Regions from separate parts of the Homo sapiens genome. Here regions 1, 2, 4, 5 and 6 are each linked to region 3. The links are contacts of gene promoters, found by promoter capture Hi-C in blood cells and fetal thymus (Javierre and others, 2016). All regions are on one chromosome and are shown on one strand. Each heading gives the region's core, a stretch centred on a gene start or on the middle of the fragment in contact. The rest is flanking DNA. Distances are from core to core; before and after follow the strand shown. Region 1 overlaps LINC01374 (long intergenic non-protein coding RNA 1374). Region 2 overlaps LINC01374 (long intergenic non-protein coding RNA 1374). Region 3 holds the start of HTR7 (5-hydroxytryptamine receptor 7). Region 4 holds the start of HECTD2 (HECT domain E3 ubiquitin protein ligase 2). Region 5 overlaps LINC01374 (long intergenic non-protein coding RNA 1374). Region 6 holds the start of TNKS2 (tankyrase 2).

Region 1 (2,821 bases), core at 196-2,695, 970 kb after region 3:
GTTGTTTAAGTCACCCAGTCTATGGTATTTATTATAGCAGCCCCCAAACGGACTCAGAGAGGGAAACTGAAAGATCATCTAGTCCAATCTAGGTACTTATCATATTACAGAGGAGAGAGTGAAACCCAGAGGGAGACAGATTTACCTAATTTGATAGGTGGCAGAGCCAAGCTGCTCTTTCAGTTTGGTGTTCTTTCCTGTACACATCTATCTGTGGAAAGGGGAATTTAAAATTCTCCCTCTAATCGCAGAGACAGTTCCCTGGGGAATGGCTGTATTTTAAAATGCAAAACAACAACCTAGACTTTTGAATAACAAAACGATTGGTTTAAATCAGGTGGAAAACCTATTTACAAAATGGGTTTAATATAAAAAAAATCTCCAAAACCTGATCTGAAGGAATTTTGCCTTCGTGTTTTTTTTCTTTTGCTATGTCTGAACATATTCTTTTTCCTTTAAAGTGACTTTAGAAGGAATACCTAATGAAGGCTACTACAATGATGCTTTTTTATGAATTAAAATAGTTGTTTCATTGTTTTGGATGACTACACTGGTTCTCTCGGTATCTTATTCTGTTAGGTGCTCTAGCTTTTATCTAACTCAAAAGAAAATAGGGAGGGGGAATCTTTTCTGGATTACCATATGCATTTGTGTCTTTTTCTGTCTTTCCCATATTTCATCACACAATTGGAGGAAAAATAATTTGTACAGCTCAGTAATTTGAATTTTAGAGCAAGTGTTCTGAAACTTCAGACTTACCAAAGAGGTATGAACTGGGTTTAATTGAATCTTAGTTGCTTAAGTAGGTTGAGGCGTTAATGTTTATCTGATTCTTCATCATCTGCTCCTGTTTGGACTCGTAAGCCTCTTCTCTAAATTGGTTTACTCCTTTCTCAGCACAGAGATTTGCCAGGAGAAATTTCTGGAAATTCAGCAGCAGGTGTCAGTGCTGCAAAGGTCCATCCAGTCAGGTAATCTCACAGCTTCCTCTCTTCTCATATCAACTGCAAACTATTTATTATGTAGGAAATATATGCTAATAAATATGGTAATCCATATCAGTTTTAATTATTTTAGTTTGCTTCACTATTTCAATAATAAAACATTAACAACCATTTGAGTTCACTAATTCTAGATTTCCAAAAAGTGATTCCTAGAATTTTAAAAGAAAAATATTTGGTTAACAACAATATTTCATGTTAGAAGAAAAGAAGGAAGAGATTCTGTCTGGAGGAAGAAGATTAGTTTTGGATTTTTTGTTTGTTTGTCTTCTCAATATATCTCTTTTTCTTAGGGTGAAAAGCTTATGTCATTTATAAAAATGAGGTTACAAATTAGCTCACTGGTGCTCATCAGTAGTTTATTAGTCTCAATCTTATTAATAATCATACTGTTCTTTCTGGGAAGCTAATAGCAAACTGAAGATCACTTTGAAAGATAATTGGCTTTGGCTTAGTAACAAAGCCATGTTTATAGATGTCTCTGGAAAAAAAGAAACCCACACACCATCAAATAATATTAGAGTGTCATGGTCCTTATGGCCAGATTAAGACTACTTCCAGGTGTCTCCCTTCCTCAGTAAGCTTCCTGTTTCCCACCAAACCAAAACCAGAACATATTGCTGACCAAAACACAAACGGTTTATATCCAGCCTGTTCTTCCTGAACAGTATCCAACTTTATTTGGAAGCAGAAATTGCCTATTCTCTGGAGATGAGTTGTGATTAGCCAAATCAATTCTGTTCCTCACTTTCCCAGTCTCCTTGCAACTAAATATGGCCCGGTGATATAATCCTTGTCTAGAAAATATATGTGAAGGTGGCCTGATAAAGGATCTTACATGTCCTGCTCCTTCCCCATTTTTCCTGATGGCTGGACCTATAGCAGCCATCTCGTAGCCGTGAGGCAACCAACAGGAGAATGAAGGTGTACACGCGAAGAATAACAGTTCAGAATGATAGAAAGTAACTGGGTCCCTGATGGGAGAGTTGAGAAGATGAGCCTACAACAGTAACCACCTACCCCTGGAATGCCAATAATGTAAAAACAAAAATCTTAATAAATTATTGGTGTAAGCTACTGCTGGCGTTTCTAACTGCTATAACCTCCTTTTCCCAGGAAAATCCTAGAACCTTTGTCTGTGACACTATTCTTCCATTTACTCTGATAAAAATAAAAGAACAAAAACATCTTGTTGTCCATATTCTTACACCATTAAAACAACATGCACAGGGTTAGGATTTTCATCAGTTTGACAATTTACTAAAGTGTTTAATTTACTTCTGTGCCAGAAAAATCTTGTAGCTGCATCCAAACTGATTATTTATAACGTGAGATGTTATTTGAATGACAGTGTATTTTATTTTCCAATTACATTTTGTTTAAGAGGTAAAATATCCATTTATAAAACTACTGCTGCTATAAAATGGTTTTACTATTAAAATCTAGATCCCTTAATTTATTCATATAGAATCCATTATAGTATACAATTTGGATGGACTGGGGTCATAATAAGAAGTCTCTTTTAATATCAGAAACAAACAATAACAGAAGCAGATTTAATCTGTCAGCCTTAATCTTAAACTCCAGATAAATTCTGCTTTACCTATCTCAAACAAGTGAAACAAGAGTGATTAGAAGTTAATAAAATCAGTATGTAGTATAAAATAGATGCTAAATAAAGTTAATGAGTCAAGATAATATAATTCTGACTACACAGGATACTAGTTTATAGTATCTGAAGTTTCAGCAAACAAGTTGAATCCCAGCTGAGTTCCAACCTAACTATATGTACTTAATGTTCTTTAACATATAAGTTCAGG
Region 2 (2,700 bases), core at 142-2,641, 990 kb after region 3:
ATTGACAGAAATATTTTGCTGAAAAGTAATACAATTAAGGTACACGCTGAAAAACCAATCTGAGGCTGATTCTACCAAATTAACCTATCGGAACAAATTGACAGGTCACTTCAGGAAAATCACCAGTTAATCTGGTTTTTTTAAAACTGAATTCTCAAAGATAGAATTGACTGCCTCTTTCATCAAGGGCTGTCTTTTGTCTTAATATCATACTGGCTCGCTGTCGATAAAAATGAAACATTTTATTTCTCAAATCCTCATCCTCAATTGGTTCATCTTATGCTCCAGTGGGTAACATTTCTACTTTTTGAGACTTTTGAGAGTTTAAATGGCTTGTATCATTTTGCTTGGGATTTTTGTTTTCTCTAGAATTGAAGGAGAAGTGAATTTCACTGACCAGTAACAGAGTAAGTATTTCTGGAATCTGCTCAAGTTTGCACATAGAATTTAGCATCATCTTGATTATTTAAAAATTTAGCTGTGAACATAAATATCTAAATATATCTGCCTACACATATAGACAACTGATTTCCTCAAGAATTAAATATGAAGATTTATTTATTTGTTCATTCAAGGAATATTTTATTTAGAAATAAATATATTCTCAGTGGTTCTGTGCTAGTGGTAATATTTAAAAGATTGATACAACAAAGTCCGTGTCCTCAAGTAACTTACTGCCTGGAGAAAAAAAGACAGTCAACTAAGCAAACACCAGATGCAGTAGGTAGGAAACAGAACAATCTCTCCATGTCTCATTACAAAATCTTTATCGCCCATTAGTCCAGAGAGGGGTGAAGGAGGCATCTATCATTCTGGTCTGAAACACTGGCACACAGTAAGAAATAGCATGCCCAGTGATGCTAGGTCTAGCCTGTGGGAAAAAAAACACAAAAACTGTAACTTAGATGTTTATATTTAGTCCTATCTCAACTTTTCCCTCTCGCCACTCTCAGCTCCAGCTATAAAATTATCCCTCCATTGCCACTTGACATTAATGAGAAATAATAATAATAGCTAACATTTATTACTACCAGGCAGGCACTACACTATGTTCCTGACATATTGTTGTGCATTACATCCTAATGGCAACTACTAGATAGCATCATCATTATCCTCATGTCAGTATAATAAATGGAGAAACATAAAGGCTAAAGAATTTGCACAAAGAATTTGGACTCAGGTAATCTGCTCAGTATCCAATGTCTACACCATCATTGTTTACTGGAACTGATACACTAAATCATTTTTCTGACCAAAAACTAGTGTATGGTGTCCCACTTCCCACCCCTTTCCCCTCAAAAGCTATTTTCATTTTAAAGAACGACTTGATTTAAAAGCCTTCTGCACAGCAAAAGAAATAACCAGCAGAGTGAAAAAAACAATCCACAGAGTAGGAGAAAACATTTGCAAACTATATATCTAACTAAGAACTAATATCCAGAACCTACAAGGAACTCAAACAAATCTGCAAGAAAAAATAATAATAATCCCATCAAATAGTGGGCAAAGGACATGAGTAGACAATTCTCAAAAGAAGATATACAAATGGCCAAGAAAAATATGAAAAAATGCTCAACATCACTAATTATCAGGGAAAGACAAATTAAAACCACAATGAGATACCACCTTACACCTGCAAGAATAGTCATAATTTAGATATCAAAAAATAATAGATATTGGCATGGATGCAGAGAAAAGGGAACACTTTCACACTGCTGGTGGGAATGTAATGAGTATAACCACTATGGAAAATAGTATGGAGATTCCTTAAGGAAATGAAAGTAGAGCTGCCATTCGACCCAGCAGTCCCACTACTGGATATCTACCCAAAGGAAAAGAAGTCATTATATGAAAAAGACACATGCACACACATGTTTACAGCAGCATAACTCGCAATTGCAAAATATGGACCCAATGTAAATGCCCATCAACCAATGAGTGGATAAACAAATGTGGTATATATGCACCATGGAATACTACTCAGCCTTAAAATTGAATGGAACTATGGCCTTTGCAGCAACTTGGATGGAGTTGAAGGCCCTTATTCCAAGTAATGTAACTCAGGAATGGAAAACCAAATACCATATGTTCTCACTTAAAAGTGGGAGCTAAGCTATGAGGAGGCAATGGCATAAGAAGGATATAATGGACTTTGAGGATTTGGCAGGGAAGGATGGAGGAGGGTGAGGGATAAAAGACTACATATTGGGTACAGTGTTCACTGCTCAGGTGATGGGTGCATGAAAAACCTCAGAAATCATCACTAAAGAACTTATCCACGTAACCAAAAGCCACCTGTACCCCCAAAACTATTGAAATTAAACAAATAAATAAAAATTAAAAAGAAGGACTTGAATCCATTGTGTTGGAATGTCAGGCATTGTGAAATGATAAGGGGACAGCACACCCAGAGATGCTACTACGAGGTCCTCCAGCCTATTGAAAAAAAACTCTATCTTAGTTGTTTATATTTTGTCCTATTTCAACTTTTCCCTCTCTCAACTCCCAATGCCTGGGAACAGACCCTGATACTGTCCCTAAAAAGCACCAAACAGTCATTTGGCATGTACTTTTAAGAAGCAGGGAGCTGAACAAATTAGGCTTTAGATTAATATGCAAATGACTCACATAACAATTAAAAAGGAGTCAAAGTCTGTTCCTGACTCACTTTCATCCCCTCTTGAGAGCTGAGAATTAGGC
Region 3 (2,700 bases), core at 171-2,670:
CTCATCCATCTTAACTGTTAGATAATATTGCTTTGTGGCCTAGGTATTATATTCAACTCTTCCTCTGACTCAATGGATTGGTTTGCTTATCCTAGGCAGAGAGGAGCCTCTGAAATGTTGATCACAGCAAAAGAGCTGTGAACATTAGGGCTTTTTTTTTTTTCCATTAAAACTTTTTCTGAATGTGTACAGGGAAGAATATGGGCATAGTAATCAGATAAACTTGGGTTTGAAACATAACTATTCCTTACCAGCTGATTGCAAGAGCTAACAACCTTCCCTATCTGGAAAAACAGAGCTAATACCCACCTTGAAGAATGAAAGTACTATTCAGCACTCTGATCAATATACTTTGAGGTTTTTATTCCTTTTCTTCTTATTTATAATCCGCTAGGGCCTAACAAGAAAAAACAGATTTGATTATTTTTAGAGTCTTAAACTACAGAAATCACTGCTGGCTTCCAATGAAACCTTCAAACAAAATGGAATGAAGCAAGTCTCACAAATAATAAAAATCAGCCGCTCTGACAGGGTTTGGATACCAAGGGGAATTTTAGCCAATAGGTATTAAATCAACATACACCTCCAGGATTCCTTTATAGAAGAGTATAACCGGTCATTTCTTTGCTTATGTGTAAGACTTCCAGAATGCTACGGGAAAATTAACTCTCTTTTCAATATATTAGGCTTTGAAGTCTAAATATAAAGGCAATCAGGGTCTATTTTCAGAGCGGAGAGGACTGTTTCTAGACATCCAGGAAGGATTAGTCCAAATGGGTGTAACCCCCTTGGAGGCCTTGTCCCCAGAGCATCCTCATCTCCTGGGTGCCAGGGGCTTAAGGAATCCCCCTCCCTCCTTTTTTTCTTTCTTCCTCTTCTCGGAGCTCCCACCCTCACCCCATTCGGCTGCTTCTTTTCCATCTTCGCTTCTTCCCATAAGCGGTCAAAATAGAAAACGGAAGTACCTATTTGTTGCTTAGTGTAGTGCTCAGAGACGTTTTTTTGGTTGTTGTTTAATTAAGAAAAATAAAATCCCCCTCTAGGTTCTTCATTTCGCAATGAGCCCAAACATCCGCTGGCTCATTAGGCCTCTTAACAAAAGAAAAATGCCCCCACTGAACTGTGGCTGACTAGTGTGCGGAGGCTGGGGTCGGCTGGAGGGGTTCTAAGTATCTATCATGCGGCAAGGACAGCTTCCCGGGCGAGGGGACCCGGGATCCCGGGAGGCGCGTGCAGCGCCGCCCCCTCACAGTAGGGAGGCGCGGGAGAGGCGGCGGTGCCTGCCCAGCCCGGGTATCCCGTCCCAGGAGCGCGAGGGAGCGGGCAGCGGCCGGAGGCGGCGGCGGCGGGGACGCGGCGCGGCTGCCGCAGGGGAGCGGCGGCGGCGGCGGCGGCGGCGGCGGGCGCGAGGGGCGGGGCGCACTCCGCAACTTCTGCCGCTGCCGCCCGGGCGCTCTCGGCGCAGCCGAGCTGCTGCTGCGAACTGTGGAGCTGCCAGCGGAGCCCAGCCCGAGCTCCCTCGACTCCGCGCGTCCCAGGCGTCCGTCGGGGGCCGAAGCGCCTCCCGCAGGGAGTCCCCGTGAGGCCGCGCTGCCGCGTTACCCGCAGCGGCCGGGGGTCCGGGGAGTGCGGGGCTCCGAGACAGAGCCAGGCGCCCCCCAGCGGTCGGCGCGGGCCCCATGGCTGGGCCGGGCGGAGCGGAACCGGTGAGGTGAAGCCCCGGGGCCGGCAGCCGGAGGCGCGTGGCCGGGGCGCCGGCTCCATGGGCAGCGGCACACGGCGGCGCGATGATGGACGTTAACAGCAGCGGCCGCCCGGACCTCTACGGGCACCTCCGCTCTTTCCTTCTGCCAGAAGTGGGGCGCGGGCTGCCCGACTTGAGCCCCGACGGTGGCGCCGACCCGGTCGCGGGCTCCTGGGCGCCGCACCTGCTGAGCGAGGTGACAGCCAGCCCGGCGCCCACCTGGGACGCGCCCCCGGACAATGCCTCCGGCTGTGGGGAACAGATCAACTACGGCAGAGTCGAGAAAGTTGTGATCGGCTCCATCCTGACGCTCATCACGCTGCTGACGATCGCGGGCAACTGCCTGGTGGTGATCTCCGTGTGCTTCGTCAAGAAGCTCCGCCAGCCCTCCAACTACCTGATCGTGTCCCTGGCGCTGGCCGACCTCTCGGTGGCTGTGGCGGTCATGCCCTTCGTCAGCGTCACCGACCTCATCGGGGGCAAGTGGATCTTTGGACACTTTTTCTGTAATGTCTTCATCGCCATGGACGTCATGTGCTGCACGGCCTCGATCATGACCCTGTGCGTGATCAGCATTGACAGGTAAGGGCCGGACCGCCCCGTCCCAGGCTCCGGCTGGGGACCGGCTGGCAGCTCAGCCCCGCGCGCTCGCCTTTCCTGGGAGGATCAAGCTAGACTTCAAGGCGGGATGAAGGGCTGCGCTTAAAACACCGCTCCCCCCAATCCACCCTACACCAACCAAACTTCGGTTACGGCATAGCCTATGTACATCTTTAAAAGAAAAACCGGAAATGTTCTGGTTTACTGTAGTGACGAATTTAAGACCAAAGTTAAGAGTATTTTAAGCCTTAGCATTTCCACCAGCGGGTCCCTTGCCTTGGTTTTTGGAAGGAAGGGATTTGGTGCTCCCTGACTTGATCAAGCCTTGCTGTGAGCCTTAAAGAGTCATTAAAAAA
Region 4 (2,929 bases), core at 263-2,762, 550 kb before region 3:
CTGAAAACCTAGGGTACCAGCAGCAGGAACCAGGTCTCCAAGCAGCTGGGTGACAAATTCCTTCAAAGCATTTTCTAGGGTAATCCCTAACCCCAGCTCCAATCTACCAATCAATTGTAGCTACGCTTTTAAACGTGTATCATTACTGTTCGCAATTTGCTGCATTGATTTAAAGAGCTTGTTTTAACAATTTCCAGTTATCAGGGCCCTCAGACATTTTTGAAAAACCTACCGAATCCGAAAATTATTCCTAACACCAATACAGTACTTAACGAAGAGTGAGCTATTTTAGTAAGTTCTTAGTCATTTAAGAGGGAGGTTTTAAGAAATGAACCGCAAGTAGGAATAAAGAAAATGTATAATGTTCACTAAACTTTTACTATTTTGTCACACACAGCTGCATGACAAGTCATGATCTTTAAATATATCAAAGCAAACTTTCAAAAAGTACTTAAATATTATGTCAAAATAAAAAATTGCAAAATCCGAGGTTTTTTTTTAAATTGTGCTTCAAATTAACCAGTCACAACCACCAGTAAAAATAGGGAAAGAGGGGGAGGGGGCTGTCCCATGACATCATCTGGCAATATGTAGTTTGAAGCCTGACAGCGCTCTCCAAATAACCCTTACGAAGATACAGCTGGGAAATCATCCCTGTCAAGCTTAGATAACTTGGGTTTAAATAAAAGGTTCAAAAAGCCTCCCCCCACCTGAGTCACATGTCTGTACCATATGAAAAATAAAACCATCACTGATGCATCTACCTCCCACTACACTGACAGCAACGGAAAGGTCACAATTAAGTGGAAACTCGCCGCAGAGCCTGTTTAATCTGAAGGGGGAAGGGAAAGAAAAGCGAAGAAAAGGACAAAAATCTGCGCGCCTCCAAGGCAGGCAGGCAGGCAGGCACCTCCGTGGAAAACCCACTCCCGCCTGCTGACACCTATGCTCATCCAACAGATCATGCCGACTCAAGATGCAGGTCATTCTCTTAGAGAAAGTGGGGGCCCAAGCCCCAGAAAATAACCCAAACATCCAGCGGAACCGACCACCCCCAACATTTCCCGAGGGTGGTAGGTGTACCTCGCGAAGTGTTCGGGGCTGTCCACGAGGCACAACTCTTTTATTTCTGCCCAAGGAAGGGCGGCCTGAGTGCGTCTCCCTGGAGTGCCAGGGCGTGCCCAGGGTAAACGCAGGCCTCCTGACGGCCCTCGCCCGGCCGCCGTCCCTCCCAACTCCCGCCGTCCGGGGCGCCAGACGGCCCCGGCCCACCACCTACCGCGGTCGCGCCGGCGCCCGCCGATACGATGGGCGGCAGCTTCTCGCGCTCTGACTCCTTCCCTTTCCTCTCCTCAGGCGCGGGCGCCGCCACCACCAGCGGAGTGGCGGGCGAGGGTACCCGAACCGCCTCACTCATGTCGGGCCGGGCGGCGGGAGCGCCAGGCGGCGGCGGCGGCCTCAGTGTTGCTGGGGCTGGCGCTGCTGCTGCCGCCGCGGCCGCGAGAGGGCTCTGGGCTGCCGCTTCTAGCCGCCGCTGCCGCCGCCACTCCGCCCCCGCCCGCGCCCGCGCCTTTGCGCGCGAGCCCGAGGCCGCCCCCGCGCGCGCCAGCCCCGCGGACGCGGCTCCCCACAGGTCCCACAGGTTTCTTGCTCTCGCCTCCCCCGCCCGCCCGGGGCTCGCGCGTCGCGGGTCGGGAGCGCCGGCGGTAGTCCCCCTCGTCAACCCCGAGGGCCCGGAGAGAAGGCGCCACGGTCGACGCCCGACCGCCATATTGTTTGCAGAGTGTCGCCCGAGATGACGAGGAGACCCCGCACCCGGGCCGCGCAGGAGAACCTGGACTAAGGACGGGCAGTCGGGGAGACAAGTCGAGCCCTGCAAAGGGTCGGACGGGGATAGAGTGTCCGAGTGGTACCAGTAGGGCAGGACGTAGGCACAGACTACCCTTCACGGACGGCCCTGGCCTGCGGCGCCGAGTCCCGCGGGCAAGCGCCCTCGGGGTCTGGGCTGGTGGCCTTTCGCCTTCTTCCAGGCGCCCACAAAGCTGTCCGCCTTGGGGCTTCTGCCTTCTTATCCTTGCCCGCCCTCCTGAGCCCAGGAGAGGCGGCCCGGAGCTTGCGCAGCCCGGGGAGACAGCCTTCCTGGCTCAGCAACCGACTCTTTTGTACACGCCTGGATGGCTTCAGCCTACACAGGAAAAGCCTGGAGGTGGGGAGGAGTGCGACGTGGTGGGCCCCCCCTTTCCCCTTCCCCCATAGGATTGGACGGCCAGTCCACACTTTCCATTCCTGTTCCTCTCGTCCCTCTTTGACTGCCAAATCCGCCTCTCCCTTCCCGTCCCCACGCGCCTACGTTTTGCTCTCTCCCCGCAACCCTTTGCTGTCTCCTATCCGTCCCTTCCTTGTTCCTTTCCGTTTATGTTAGAGATGTACATACCCAAACTCTGCTGCACAGTCCTCAATCAAATCATTACAAATAGGAGTAAAAACTTGAAAGCCGAAGAAGAGAGCTTTTAATTATGAAATTAAAATACCCCCCACCTCCACCACCAGGACACCTAGACAATTTCCTTTCCTTTCTTGTCGCCCCCTCCTTTTCCTTTTTCTCAGTCTACTGGAGCGGCGGGGACACCTGCTGATCTAGGAGAAAAGAGAGTAAGAATGCGCTGTATCGCCTGTTAAAAGCAAGGAATTTCGATATTCAGCTCTATCAGATTTTTTATCTGTGCCTTCATTATTTTATTGGAGGTTGAGTGAATTTTTAGATCAAGAGTACCTAAGTCCAAATATAAGAACCAAAAATATCTCTGAAACAAACCCAAATATGATTTCGGGGTATCTATTGTTTACATAATTTGGAGTTATTAGTATAACTAAATACTAGTTATGGTGCATCATGAGATAAGGTTGCATGTTTTCAAACCCACAATTT
Region 5 (2,785 bases), core at 154-2,653, 960 kb after region 3:
GATAAAATAACTTTTTTGGTATATAAAAAGCTAAACTAAGGCTATATGAAGGCTTTGTCTCCAGCATCTGGAAAATAGATGCCAGATTTTTATATGAATCTCTTCTTTCCAAGAGGCTCTGTTCTTACATTAAAATAAGATGACAAAATGGTGGAACTGTGTTGCACTTGAATTTTTTCCATAAGCAATTACTGCTATATGTGTCAAATATGAGTGGTCTCCCTGCATAATGGTTCCTCTTCCTGCATAAGAAGTGGAGGACTCTCTATTTATATTCACAATGAGGAGCTAAAGAGAAAATGAAGGAAATAATATGTGAAAGAAAACACTCAATGATTCATTCATTGCTTCATTCAGTGCACATATATTGAGTGCCTGCCTTTTATTAGGCACTACACTGGGGCTGAAGATAAAGTCATAGAGAAAAGAGACATGGTCTCTGTTCTCACAGAGCAGTGTGAGAAACAGTTTAGAAGTAAGGCAGTTATGTAGCAATGCCACCACTTCTGCAGTCAGAGTGCAGAGTGCTGCAGGGGTACCTAGGAGCCCTACCACGCAGGGAAGGCTTCTTGGAGGAGACCTCTAAGCTGAAACCTCAAATAACCAAGAAGGTGATGACAACAAGAAGCCTGAGGAGACACTAGTGCGTGGAAGAAAATGACCAAGAAGATGATGATGAGAGGAGACTGGAGCAATAAGGCCTTACAATAGTCTGAGGCAGTTTCTTCACAGGTACACAGGAAGAATTGTCACTTATCAGAGAAGTGGTTATTTTTACCTCCTATAACAAGAAGAGTAGTTCTTGAAAGCTCCAAGAAGCCTGTTTCTTGGCCTGCAGTAAAAAGCACTCAGTCTTCAATGTCAACTTCCTTGGCATAACAGAGATTTGATTCTCATAAGCCTGACATGTCCTCCTAGTAGCAGACCCATCTATGGAGAATATGGAGGCCATGACAGTTACCTTCTCCCTGCTTCTACTGACATGTGGAGACTGCGAATTCTGCCATAGAGGCCTAGAAAACATCTCCCAGGACTATGAAGTCCATGGAGGGAAGCTGGAGGACTTGCAAGCTTAAGTGGGACTTCATATATTTCAACATCATTAGAGTTGAGAGTTGTAATTTGGATGAGAAAGGAAAAAGTGGGAAGTGAACAAATGGCTACAAGATGTGCTGTAAAATCAATTTCCATTTTCAGGACCTGATGATAGAATAATGGGCTATAAGCTAAGGCCATAATGCATGTCACAAAGAGAGGGAGAAGACATGTTTTCCCAGAGAGTTGCCAATAGGATGACCAGTGACTGAAACTCAAAGTTAAGTATTATAGAAGAGAAATACATGCCCAAATATAATGGGACATTCTACACATTACATAGGAAATCAAAGAAAGAATAATTGAGGGAATAGTACTCAGTATCTCAACAGGAGAAAATAAGCAGGATGGGATTTAGGGATAAGTTTAGGCCACGGTGTGTTGGTAAATGTTTAACAACCAGTCATTTGAGGGAGGGGAAAAAAAATATATATATATATATATGTGTGTGTGTGTGTGTGTGTGTATGTATATATGTGTGTGTGTGTATATATATACACATGTATATATATGTATATGTATATACATGTATATGTATGTATAGATATGTACATATGTATATATATACACACATGTACACACATATATATACACACACACATATATACATACACACAAAATTGTATTGATAAAAGCTTATTACAAATTTTACTGATATAAAGAATTATAACTCAAAATTTACAAATAATAATAAAATACACCACTCTCTTTATTGTAAATTTCATGTAGAAATTGATTCTCACAGAATGCTTTTGCCGATTTTTGCTGAATCTTGTATCTGTATTCAACCTATGGTTGCAAACAATGAATGAGCTTATTTATGACATGAATTTTGGTTGATACTTTCATTCATGTTAACAAGTAAGGACAAAAGCAAAACAGCAGGGACCTATGTTGGAACTTTGTTTATCTGTCAATGATGTGAATGATTTATTTGCTGAATTGGCAAACAGTTTTCAAATACTGCAAAAATATTTTCTTAATGTTATATGCTATTCACAGTGTAATGGCTATAGACACAACATACTATTGTGTCTATTTGTATTATTTACATTTGCTTCATCACTTTCTTAAGTCTAGACAGTCAACAACAAAAAAATCCAGATCTGACTTATAGCATTTGCTGATTTTCCTGGTATAAATATTCCCACCAAGACCAATTTCAAGCTGCCAAGTTGACTTAATGAACACAGCATTGAGAAGGAAAGCATGGCAGTAGCATACCATTATACAGTATTTCTATCTTATAGGAACAATAGACATAACCTTAAGAGTAAAGATACTCTATGATACAGTACAGTGAAATACTTGGACAATCATGAGTTTTACAAATTTATTATTATCTTTTAGCGAATACACTTTCTTTAGCTAAATATTTAGTAATTATCTTTCAGTAATTTATTCTACAGTCTTTCCCAATATTAGTCTCAAGGACACCAGTCTGTGGTGTGCAGACTTCATTCTCCTTTTTCCTTTGTGAAAGAATCAAGTTTGCCCAGAAATTTGCTCCACTATTTTGAAATCTATTCCATTTTCTGTAATTTCTCAAAAATTAGAAACATTGAGTTATATCAAAATTCTAGATTATAAAACAAAACTTGGTGAACAAATTCAACCATACACTATAGCCTAAAATAAACAGGACACATCCTACTGCTTCTTATTCTTTTAGAAAAGGTGATAGATAGAT
Region 6 (2,700 bases), core at 33-2,532, 940 kb before region 3:
CTATGGCTCTTTTAAATTTTTCGACTAAATTTAATATGCTTAAATCATAAAGTGAACCTAATAAATATTAAAATAATGTAATTCAAACGATCTAAATTTCAGAATGAAGCAAGGTTAGTCCCAACTTAAATTCTAGATTCAAGCTAAAGTACTTGCACTATCTTTTCTCTTATACTACCACTTTCCGCCCAACTTGTATGTGTGTGTGTCTAAGGCTTCCCGCACCCAGCCTAAGTCAGGTTTCAGTTCTCCCAAACTTGCCTATTTCCCGTTCTAGTCACTCCAGAAACTTGGTAATGATTGGCTATTCTGATAAACCAATTAACGCTAATGTGTCAACGTCCTATTAAGCTACTCCTCCTAAATTACATCCTTGTATTTTACAAAGTCCTTCAAGACCTTAACCCAAATGGAACTTGCAAGAACGAAAAATTTTGGAGGTAACTGACCTTTTAAATCATAAGGTCTATCAACTACGTCCCCTACTCTTTCTTGTGTGTAGAGGCCTTCTAGGGTAACAAGACCGGAAGTTGGTACAGGTATTGTTGATACTGTAAAACAAAACAAAGCCAAAACCCCAAACCACCCCCAACACCTGGCAAAAAAACCAAACCAAGACAAAACAAAAAACTTCCAGCGAGTGTGGCACGCTCACCCTACCCCTAATCTCCTTAGTCCCCACTGGAAGAGAGCGAGATCACCAGGACCAGAGTCCTGGAGAAAGGTCGGGAGGCGGAGGAGCACTGGTTTCAGACCTGTGGGCCCCGGCTGCGCAGGTGGGGTCTGGAGCGAGGCGAGGGGACGCTGGCCCCGGTTACCTGCGGCGAAGTGCAGCGGGGTGGATTTCCTGCCCGCCGTGTCGCGGCTGTTCACCTTCTCAGGCGTCACCAGCCTCTTGACTCGTTCCACGTCCCCGTTGCGGCACGCCTCGAACAGCTCTCGGGCGGCCGGCTCCACGGCCTCGGCCGCGGCGCTCGCGCAGGCCGCTCCCCCGCCGGCGCAGCGGCGACCCGACATGATCCTGGCCGCCGCCACAGCCAGCAACAGCGCCAGCAACCGGAGCAGGAGCCCCGGCCCCGCGAGCAGGAGGGCGAGGCCCCCCGGAGAAGACGCGCTCAGGGCCCGGGCCGCTTGGCTCCCTGCTGTCACCGGATCCGGCGCAGTCCCATGGCCGCGCCCACGCGCGCCCCTCGCTGGGCTCCCTGCCCCCCGGCTGCCCCGCGGCGGCGGAGGCAGCGCGAATCCGCCGTCCGGGTCCTGAAACGACGCGGCGGCGGAAGCTGGCAAGGCCCCTCCTGCCAGCTCCGTCCAGCCCCGGGAGCGCACGTGACGTCGTCCCGCGCGTGCGCAGTGGCCGGGCACCGGCTGGGCAGGTTTCGGCTAGCGAGGCGGCGCGAAGGGTTTGTGGGAAATGTGAGGCGAGAGGCTTCGGCGGCGGGAGAAGGGGCTTCGTCCCACCGCCATCTTTGCGGTGGGTTCTGCTGAAGCCGAACGATCCTGCATATTGTGTTTTTTGTTGTTGTTGTTTTAAGCCCTGGGCTTTCCAGGCTGAACTTTCTCACTACCATTACACTGAAAAAGAGCCCTTGAAAGTTTTGCTCGGATCTTGCACATTCTTTTGGAAGTCTTACTGTGGAAATTGTCCGTGTTTTCAGCTTCCACATCCCTTTCTCCTGGGAGATTTCTTTTCCGTTTTTTTTACTTTGTCTCTTTTCTTTCCTCCGCAACTGCTTTGTTGTTGTTGTTGTTGTTTCTTGTAAACCACTTCTCAAAAGTGAACTAGTTGCCGTTTAATAGAAGTTTGGATGAACTGCCCCCAAAATAAAGGAAATCCGAACAGTCATGGAAGTTGACTCCAATTGGAGGGATGGCTCTGATCAATTACTCTTTCCACAGTAAGTTATTAGCTCAGGATTGATTAGAGGAACTTTTTGTAAATCAATATTGTACCTGACATGCCTAAAGTTTGGATACACTGAGCATACGCATCTCCAAGAAAGTTTTCTGAGTTATAATCTTTTTCTTTGACCAACAAACAAAAGAAAAGCATATAATTGATTTTCATGCTTAAGATACTGGTGTAGTTTTACACGATAATTCCCCACTACACCCCCTTGTCTTAAACTGAAAGAAAGGTATGCCTATACATACATTTTACTTACAGAAGATGATACATGTTGACCTTTGCCATTCTGAAAAGCATCCCCCCCCCAACCTCCTACCTTAACCTGTTTTTCAGGAAATCCAGTTTTTGTTGGGGAATGTTGACTCACTACAGTGCTAAAAGAGGATGTACACTTTTTTGAGCATTTTTATACATATGAAATTGAAGTTATGGTGCTTATCAATAACATGAACATGCATGAACGAACCTAGGACTAGAACACTACCAATATGATTGCGTTTATCATTTTTCTTCCCATAAATCTGCTATGGTGATCTATGATCAGTGATAAGTTGAAATCACTGTTGTAATTGTTTTGAGGCACCACAAACCACACCCATAGAAGACAGCAATCAATCAATAAATGTGTATGTTCTGACTGCCCCACTGACAGGCTACTCTGCCATCTCTCTCCCTCTCCTGGGGCCTATCTGTTCCCTTAAACACAATAATATTGAAATTAGGCCAATTAAGAACTCTGCAATGGTTTTCTAGGTGTTCAAGTGAAAGGAAAAGTTGCGTATCTCTCACTTTAA

The links. The method cuts DNA at HindIII sites, captures the fragments that hold promoters and counts their contacts. A CHiCAGO score of 5 or more calls a contact.
Region 1: a contact is called between a fragment that was not itself captured here and the fragment with the promoter of HTR7 in region 3, in 5 of 17 cell types (M0 macrophages, M1 macrophages, M2 macrophages and 2 more). The highest score is 9.8, in M0 macrophages.
Region 2: a contact is called between a fragment that was not itself captured here and the fragment with the promoter of HTR7 in region 3, in 2 of 17 cell types (naive B cells and M0 macrophages). The highest score is 6.6, in naive B cells.
Region 4: a contact is called between the fragment with the promoter of HECTD2 here and the fragment with the promoter of HTR7 in region 3, in 10 of 17 cell types (fetal thymus, activated CD4 T cells, total CD8 T cells and 7 more). The highest score is 10.0, in fetal thymus.
Region 5: a contact is called between a fragment that was not itself captured here and the fragment with the promoter of HTR7 in region 3, in 2 of 17 cell types (M0 macrophages and M2 macrophages). The highest score is 9.0, in M0 macrophages.
Region 6: the fragment with the promoter of TNKS2 here is called in contact with the fragment with the promoter of HTR7 in region 3 in 4 of 17 cell types (fetal thymus, total CD4 T cells, activated CD4 T cells and 1 more); the score reaches 7.3 in fetal thymus.

The regions. Positions count from the first base shown.
Region 1 is chr10:89,884,888-89,887,708 of GRCh38, reverse strand. All of the region lies in intron 1 of LINC01374 (long intergenic non-protein coding RNA 1374), which reads right to left. Among named protein-coding and RNA genes, the nearest start is that of LINC01374, 32 kb to the right of the region's middle. The HindIII fragment of the contact is 280 bases long and covers 1,306-1,585 here.
Region 2 is chr10:89,862,175-89,864,874 of GRCh38, reverse strand. All of the region lies in intron 1 of LINC01374 (long intergenic non-protein coding RNA 1374), which reads right to left. Among named protein-coding and RNA genes, the nearest start is that of LINC01374, 9.6 kb to the right of the region's middle. The HindIII fragment of the contact is 8,705 bases long and covers 1-2,700 here.
Region 3 is chr10:90,856,759-90,859,458 of GRCh38, reverse strand. HTR7 (5-hydroxytryptamine receptor 7) reads left to right here and starts at 1,420. Exons shown (of 4, transcript NM_019859.4): 1 at 1,420-2,326. The coding sequence starts at 1,788. RefSeq lists silencers at 1,383-1,752, 1,773-1,822. The HindIII fragment of the contact is 8,867 bases long and covers 1-2,700 here.
Region 4 is chr10:91,408,927-91,411,855 of GRCh38, reverse strand. HECTD2 (HECT domain E3 ubiquitin protein ligase 2) reads right to left here and starts at 1,512. Exons shown (of 21, transcript NM_182765.6): 1 at 1,280-1,512. The coding sequence starts at 1,417. The region is part of intron 3 of HECTD2-AS1 (HECTD2 antisense RNA 1); the gene reads left to right. RefSeq lists a silencer at 1,156-1,745 and an enhancer at 1,896-2,105. The HindIII fragment of the contact is 4,522 bases long and covers 665-2,929 here.
Region 5 is chr10:89,901,337-89,904,121 of GRCh38, reverse strand. The region is part of intron 1 of LINC01374 (long intergenic non-protein coding RNA 1374); the gene reads right to left. Among named protein-coding and RNA genes, the nearest start is that of LINC01374, 49 kb to the right of the region's middle. The HindIII fragment of the contact is 659 bases long and covers 1,074-1,732 here.
Region 6 is chr10:91,797,008-91,799,707 of GRCh38, reverse strand. TNKS2 (tankyrase 2) reads right to left here and starts at 1,282. Exons shown (of 27, transcript NM_025235.4): 1 at 819-1,282. The coding sequence starts at 1,017. It overlaps TNKS2-DT (TNKS2 divergent transcript), which reads left to right and starts at 1,417. Exons shown (of 2, transcript NR_108071.1): 1 at 1,417-1,471. RefSeq lists a silencer at 914-1,323 and an enhancer at 1,404-1,573. The HindIII fragment of the contact is 6,559 bases long and covers 1-2,700 here.